Regions from separate parts of the Homo sapiens genome. Here region 2 is linked to region 1. The links are contacts of gene promoters, found by promoter capture Hi-C in human tissues and cell types (Jung and others, 2019). All regions are on one chromosome and are shown on one strand. Each heading gives the region's core, a stretch centred on a gene start or on the middle of the fragment in contact. The rest is flanking DNA. Distances are from core to core; before and after follow the strand shown.

Region 1 (3,296 bases), core at 341-2,840:
GCCCAGCAGGACCAGGGCCCAGGGTTCAGTCGCAGGGCAACGCCCAATCCCTGTTCTGCTCACGAGCTGCCCGCTGGGACGCCGAGTTCTGCGGTGTCTCAGAGCGCAGCTTCACCCAGGGGCTCCACGTCTCCTGAGTGCTCATGAAGGGAAGAGAGGCCTGATTGATTTCTTCAATGTAGAGACCAGAGCCCAAGCAATACTGTACAATCCAGTTGCCTCAGTATTGCCCTTGAAAATGGATTTCACGTTCATTCTAACAGCAGCAGGAACTATAGCCACCCTTGCTGCTGCTGCTGCTGTAGCAACATTATTAATAGTAAAAAATCTAAGTTATTTAAAGAAGTGGACAACTAGGGATAATCAGAATACTAAAGAATCTAGTAAACAAAACAAACAAACAAAAAAACACGCCTGTTTTCAAGATGGATACCAAAATGGAACAGGAAAACACACAAAGAATTGGATGAGAAGGAACAGAGACTAGATGAAGAGGACGGGGAGGAACAGGGAACAGACCAAGGACTGGCAGAGAAGGAACAGGGCACACACGTAAAAGTGAACGAAAAGCAACAAGACAGCCAAATTTCTTAAGTGTAACATAAAACTTGGTTAATTACAGACAGGCAACACATGCCGATCAAACCAAGAGGGAGGGCGCTGGACCACACTGGGCTCTTTTTTGAGGACCACAGGGCAGCGGCTGGAGGCTAAAGCACAGACTTGGCTGGTGTGAGTGGCACACTTAATTAAGGTCACTTTCCTGTAAAACTGGTTTCCAGAGACAAGGGTCAGCGGCGGGGCCAGCATCTTTTAGAAAGGTGTGAGGAAAGGTACGTGGAGGGAAAGTTGTCAGTGTGATCTTATTTCTTGACAGAAGTTTGACTTTTGATATTTCAAATCCTGCTGATGAAAAAAGAAAAAAACCTAACATGTGCTCATCCCGCTTTCGCACAAGAGTCTGTCCCGGGCTCGGCAGCTCCCCCGGGGCTGGACAGGGCGGAGCGGCGGACGTCGGACAATGCGCGCCACCTCACAGAGCCGGGCGCGGCGGGCCTCCAGCCACAAGGGGAGGGCGCCGGGCTGCACATGGGCCCCTCGGGGAGGCGAGGCCTGCGGGCGAGCCCTTCTGAGGGCAGGGGGTGAGGGGGCGGCGCCCGCCAGCCAGGACAGCATCCTGCCGCCGTGACAAGCACGCCTCCGGTTGCCAAAACAACCCAAAAATGTGCCTCAAAACACGTTCGCAAAGCCCCGGGCCGGCCGGTCGCCTGCCTCTCACCTAGCCCGACCGCCCGACGTCCTACTGCCGAGCGAGGGCGAGCAAGCCAATGTGCCTAGCCTCCTTTCCCCGATCCTCCCCGCCCCGCCTTCCCGCTTCTCCCGCCCCCGGATAGCTCAGCAGCCTCCATTTTCCAGATCTTTCTCGAACCCGCAGCTTCTTGGGCAGCCGTTGCCCGAGTGCTGACGGAAGCGGCCGAAGTCCGGGCCCGGAGCTGGCTCGGGCGCGGAGCGGAGGCTCGCGCGCCTCCCGGGCAGCCGAGCGCGCAGGCGCAGGTCCCAGTAACCGCCGGTTGGAGGCGGCCGAACCGCAGTAGGGAAAGACCCAGGCTGCGGGACGCGGTGCAGGCTGCGGCGCTGACGGCCTCTGCTCCTTCCGCGGGTTTCCGACTCCCTGCCCTAGATTTTCTGCTTAGCGACTTGGGGTCCCCTCTCGTTTGCTTCTGGTAGGAGTCGCAATCCCAGCAGCAATAGCCCAGAAGAGGACACGGTTCCCGTACCGAAGGGTTCAGTACCAGCAGCCCGACCATCACGCGGCGGGATGTCTGTGGTTGGCATTGACCTCGGCTTTCTCAACTGCTACATTGCTGTCGCGAGAAGTGGCGGCATCGAGACCATCGCCAATGAGTACAGCGACAGGTGTACCCCGTAAGTGCCTCTGCTGAGCATCACCTCGACCCTAAGAAACGTTTTTCTCTCCCGTCCTTAACGTTTGTCCTGTCTGCTCGCTTCCTCGGATTTTCCCCTAACGTGCGCCGAACCCCGAGATGACAGGTGCAACCCGTCAACCGCAGTCCCTAGAGACCGCCGGGTGGCAGTCGGACTTCCTCGCCCCGCAAAGCTTCTTTTCCTTCAAGGACGAGGGACCGCACTAGTTTGCGCAGCTCTCTTTTCTGTACCTACGCACGTCCCCTGCCTCGTGCCGCTGTCCCCCAACGCCTCTTTTGCTTGCGAGGAAGAGGTTGCTGTGGGACAGCCCCTGGCGTCCGGAATATTGAGAAAGATCTCCGGTTGCCTCTAACGAGGTTTACGTGGGATTATCGGCCCCGCGCCAGCTGCCCTCCTTCCTTTCCCCGTCCCTCTGGGTGACAGCTTTTTCTCAGAAAAGTAAAAAGTCAGCTTCGGCTGCACACGTCAGAGATGAATTGCAGGTTCATCTGGCCCCGAAAGCCTTTTTTTTTTTTTTAAGGGCGGGGAGTGAGGCATGTGGGGTTTTACAAAACCCAGTGCCCTTGAGAACTGCAGGTAATGGAGCCGGTTTACAGGGCCAGGTCAATGGTGCATTGATAGGGAGAGCCTCGGGATGGGAGTCACTGGCCTTGTGCATTGGTAACTACGTCAGTTGCTGGAATGCGGCGGGGTTGGGTCGGACCAAAAGCGTGTTTCTGCAGAGTGAATTGCCGGAGTCGGGGGCAGCTGTCCCGTATAAACATGACTGTGGAGTGATTCTATTATGAACGCTTAATGAAAGGCTTAGGAGGAGCGGCGTTATGTCATGGAAACATGTTTCCACATGTTCCGTTGTTTCTCTGGCCTGGGAAGTTTGTTGGCAAGGAATATAATGAAGTAATTCTGAAATATGAAAAACTAGTTGCTGCTTATAGGCTGCTGTTACTGGTAATTTTATGAGGAAACCAACTGTATGAAACCTATATTACTTTTTATGGAAAGGTAATTTGGCATCTTAATTTGACCGTTCTGAATGGTCCAAAATATAATACCTTAACTATACTAAAACAAGGTCAGTGTCCAATGGTCTTTAAATGCCTCATTTACTATTCTATGGAAAGCTTTAAAATATGGCAAAAAGATGTTGAAGAGTAGCTCACTTGAAGCAGTCTGTGCTTTGATTTCTTTCCAAGAAGATTCTAGAAGGTTTTATACCTTTTTTCGTAGATGTACACGTTTCTTCTATTGAAATTTTAAACGTTTTGGACGTTTATATTTTCAATACATGGGCATAGATAAGGTAATCCTCAATAATGTTTGAACTCTTCTACTTTTTACATCTTTTTCTG
Region 2 (3,296 bases), core at 322-2,821, 270 kb after region 1:
TTTTTTGAGACAGAGTCTCGCTCTGTCGCCCAGGCTGGCTGGAGTGCAGTGGCACAATCTCGGCTCACTGTAACTTCTGCCTCCTGGGTTCGTGCCATTCTCCTGCCTCAGCCTCCCGAGTAGCTGGGACTACAGGTGCCCGCAACCAAGCCCAGCTAATTTTTTTTTATTTTTTTTTAGTAGAGATGGGGTTTTACCGTGTTAGCCAGAATGGTTTCGGTCTCCTGACCTCGTGATCCGCCCGCCTCAGCCTGCCAAAATGCTGGGATTACAGGCATGAGCCATCGTGCCTGGCCCCTCTTTTTTTATTTTCTTAATCATTAAAAAAAGTAAAATTCATTCTTAGTTTGTTCCTGTATAAAAATAGGTGGTAGGCTGGGCGCAGTGGCTCACGTCTGTATTCCCAGCACTTTGGGAGGCCGAGGTGGGTGGATCACGAGGTCAGGCGTTCGAGACCAAACTGACCAACATAGTGAAACCCCTTCTCTACTAAAAATACAGAAATTAGCTGGGCGTGGTGACACATGCCTATAATCCCAGCTACTTGGGAGGCTGAGGCAGGAGAATTGCTTCAACCTGGGAGGCGGAGGTTGCAGTGAGCCGAGATCGCGCCACTGCACTCCAGCTCGGGCAACAGTGTGAGACTCTATCTCAAAAAAAAAAAAAAAAAAGGTGGTAGACAGATTTGGCCCATGGGCCATAGTTTGCCAAGGCCTGATCCAGACAATCTATATGACCTTGAATTGTTTTCTAAGTAGTATATTTTTACTAGTGCTTATGATTGGAATCAGTTATATAGTAATAAATATGGTTGTTCATATATGTGACATATAGTAATAAAAACATTGTAAGTCAGAAAAAAAGCCAGTAGTCTTCTTACCCTTCATGTTCCCTATGTATGATTTTGTAATTAGAAAAATATTGGGTCACTGAGTTATGCAGACCTCCAAAATGTTGACACATTTCATTACACAACATCAAAAATTAGGTTCATTAAAATCACTACTGAGCTCATCAGAAAATCTTTAAGCACTAGGAAGCTGTTGAGTTCATGGTAATGGTTAAAAGTTTTCCAAGCTTCTCATTTTCTCTTGAAAACTTGAAGGTTATCACTGACAACAAATATTGTCTAGTTGTTGCCACTGATGTGACAGGCTCATTTCATTCATTTTTTAGAAGATGTCTGCCAAATTACCTAAGCACAAGTAAACCTATTTTGTTATCAATAGTTTTTTTCTTTTTTGTGTGTGTGACAGAGTCTCGCCCTGTTCCCTAGGAGTGTAGGGGCGTGATCCCAGCTCACTGCAACCTCTGCCTCCTGGGTTCGTGTGATTCTCCTGTTTCAGCCTCCGGAGTAGCTGGGATTACAAGCACCCACCACCACACCCAGCTAATTTTTGCATTTTTTAGTAGAGACGGGGTTTCACCATGTTGGCCAGGTTGGTCTCGAACTCCTGACCTCAGGTGATCCGCCCGCCTCGGCCTCCCAAAGTGCTAGGATTACAGGTGTGAGCCACCGTGCTCAGCCCCATTTGATCTTATTTCTAGGGGATCATGACACTGAAACCACAGAGAAGGGAATGCAGTCCTCTCATACTACATTGTTCTGCAGTAAGAGATAGCTATAAACTCAAAATAACATAAAGCTGTTTGTGGATTCTTAAATTTTCAGACCAATCTATGAACAAAGCACAAAGGTATATTATGGTTACTCAATAGAGTATAAGTGATTACTCCTGACAATGTAAGGAAAAGGAAGAAATGTCCAGGATGTGGAGACCTCTCATACGCTGCCAGTGGGTGTGTGAATTGGTACAAGAGTTTGGAAAATGACTTGGCAATATTTGGAACAAATGAAGATATGCAGATCCTATGACTCAGAAATTCTATTCCTAAAATGATACCCTCAATAAATTGGCACATGCACACCAGAAAAAAAAATGTTCATAAAAGCCATGTTTACAGTAGTCCCAAATTGGAAGCCGAAAAATTCATCAACAATAGCATAAAAAATTGTGATATAGTCATTCAATGAAATACACATACTATAACAGAATAAATGACCTACAGCTACTCTCAACTTGTATGAATCTTAAAAACATAATATTGAATGAAAGAAGCAAGACGGAAAGTAGCATATGATTCCATCTACATATAGTTTTAAAAATAGGCAAAACTATGGGATGCATGTTTAGTGACAAACCATAAAGAAAAGCAAGAAATTTGAGGAGGCCAAGGCAGGAGTATAGCTTGAGCCCAGGAGTCCAAGACAAGCCTGGGCAACGGACACCTCATCGCTACAAAAATTGAAACAAATAAAAAATTTGCCACGGCCGGGCACAGTGGCTCACGCCTGTAATCCCAGCACTTTGGGAGGCTGAGGCAGGTGGATCACGAGGTCAAGAGATCGAGACCACGCTGGCCAACATGGTGAAACCCCGTCTCTACTAAAAAAAAAATACAAAAATTAGCTGGGCATGGTGGCATGTGCCTGTAATCCCAGCTACTTAGGAGGCTGAGGCAGGAGAATTGCTTGAACCTGGGAGGTGGAGGTTGCAGTGAGCCGAGATTGCATCATTGCATTCCAGCCTGGTAACAAAGTGAGATTTCGTCTCAAAAAAAAAAAATTTGCCAGGCTTGGCAGCTCATGCCTCTGGTCCCAGCTACTTGAGTGGCTGAGGTGGGAGGATCTCTTGAACCTGGGAGGTCAAGGCTGCAGTGAGCCGTGATCGCAGCACTACACTATAGCCTGAACAAAAGAGTGAGATCTTGTCTCGAAAAAAAAAAAAAAAATGGTGTGTGTTGGTGGGGGACACATGGGAGTTCTAATAAGAGGGTTGAATGTAAAAATAAAGAAAAGCAGACAACCGTTGGAAGGTAGAACAAAGGGTAGGATGATATATTCTCATTTTATAGAGTGGCAATATAAGAAGCTCTTTCTAAAATTGGTGAAATACTAAGTAAATGTTCAAATTACTTAAATTATTTAAAATTTCCAAGTAAACAACAAAAATATCAGAAATTGGGAGGAGAATCGAGCAGGGGCTTATGTAAGTGTGTTAAATCCTCATGTTTTATAGTGGCAAGGCAAAAGTTGAAAGATGGTAACTTTGGGGATTAGTACCTTTGTGAAGTAGAACTGTTTTTTTATTTTCATTATAAACAATATTGTACCATTTGGTGTTACCATATGCATAAGCTAATTGCATTTTTTTTTTTTTGAGACGGAGTTTCGCTCTTGTTGCCCAGGTTGGAGTGCAATGGCGCCATCTGCGGCTCACTGCAACCTCTGCCTC

What was found. Contacts are between HindIII fragments. The study calls those that stand out against the background at their distance.
Region 2: a fragment that was not itself captured here is called in contact with the fragment with the promoter of HSPA4L in region 1 in 1 of the 25 tissues and cell types used here (lymphoblastoid cells).

Annotation. Positions count from the first base shown.
Region 1 is chr4:127,780,732-127,784,027 of GRCh38, forward strand. It overlaps HSPA4L (heat shock protein family A (Hsp70) member 4 like), which reads left to right and starts at 1,591. Exons shown (of 19, transcript NM_014278.4): 1 at 1,591-1,926. The coding sequence starts at 1,820. RefSeq lists silencers at 952-1,121, 1,402-1,471 and enhancers at 1,612-1,761, 1,661-2,653, 2,262-2,341. The HindIII fragment of the contact is 5,760 bases long and covers 1-2,593 here.
Region 2 is chr4:128,048,153-128,051,448 of GRCh38, forward strand. No RefSeq gene overlaps it. Among named protein-coding and RNA genes, the nearest start is that of LARP1B, 12 kb to the right of the region's middle. The HindIII fragment of the contact is 3,104 bases long and covers 20-3,123 here.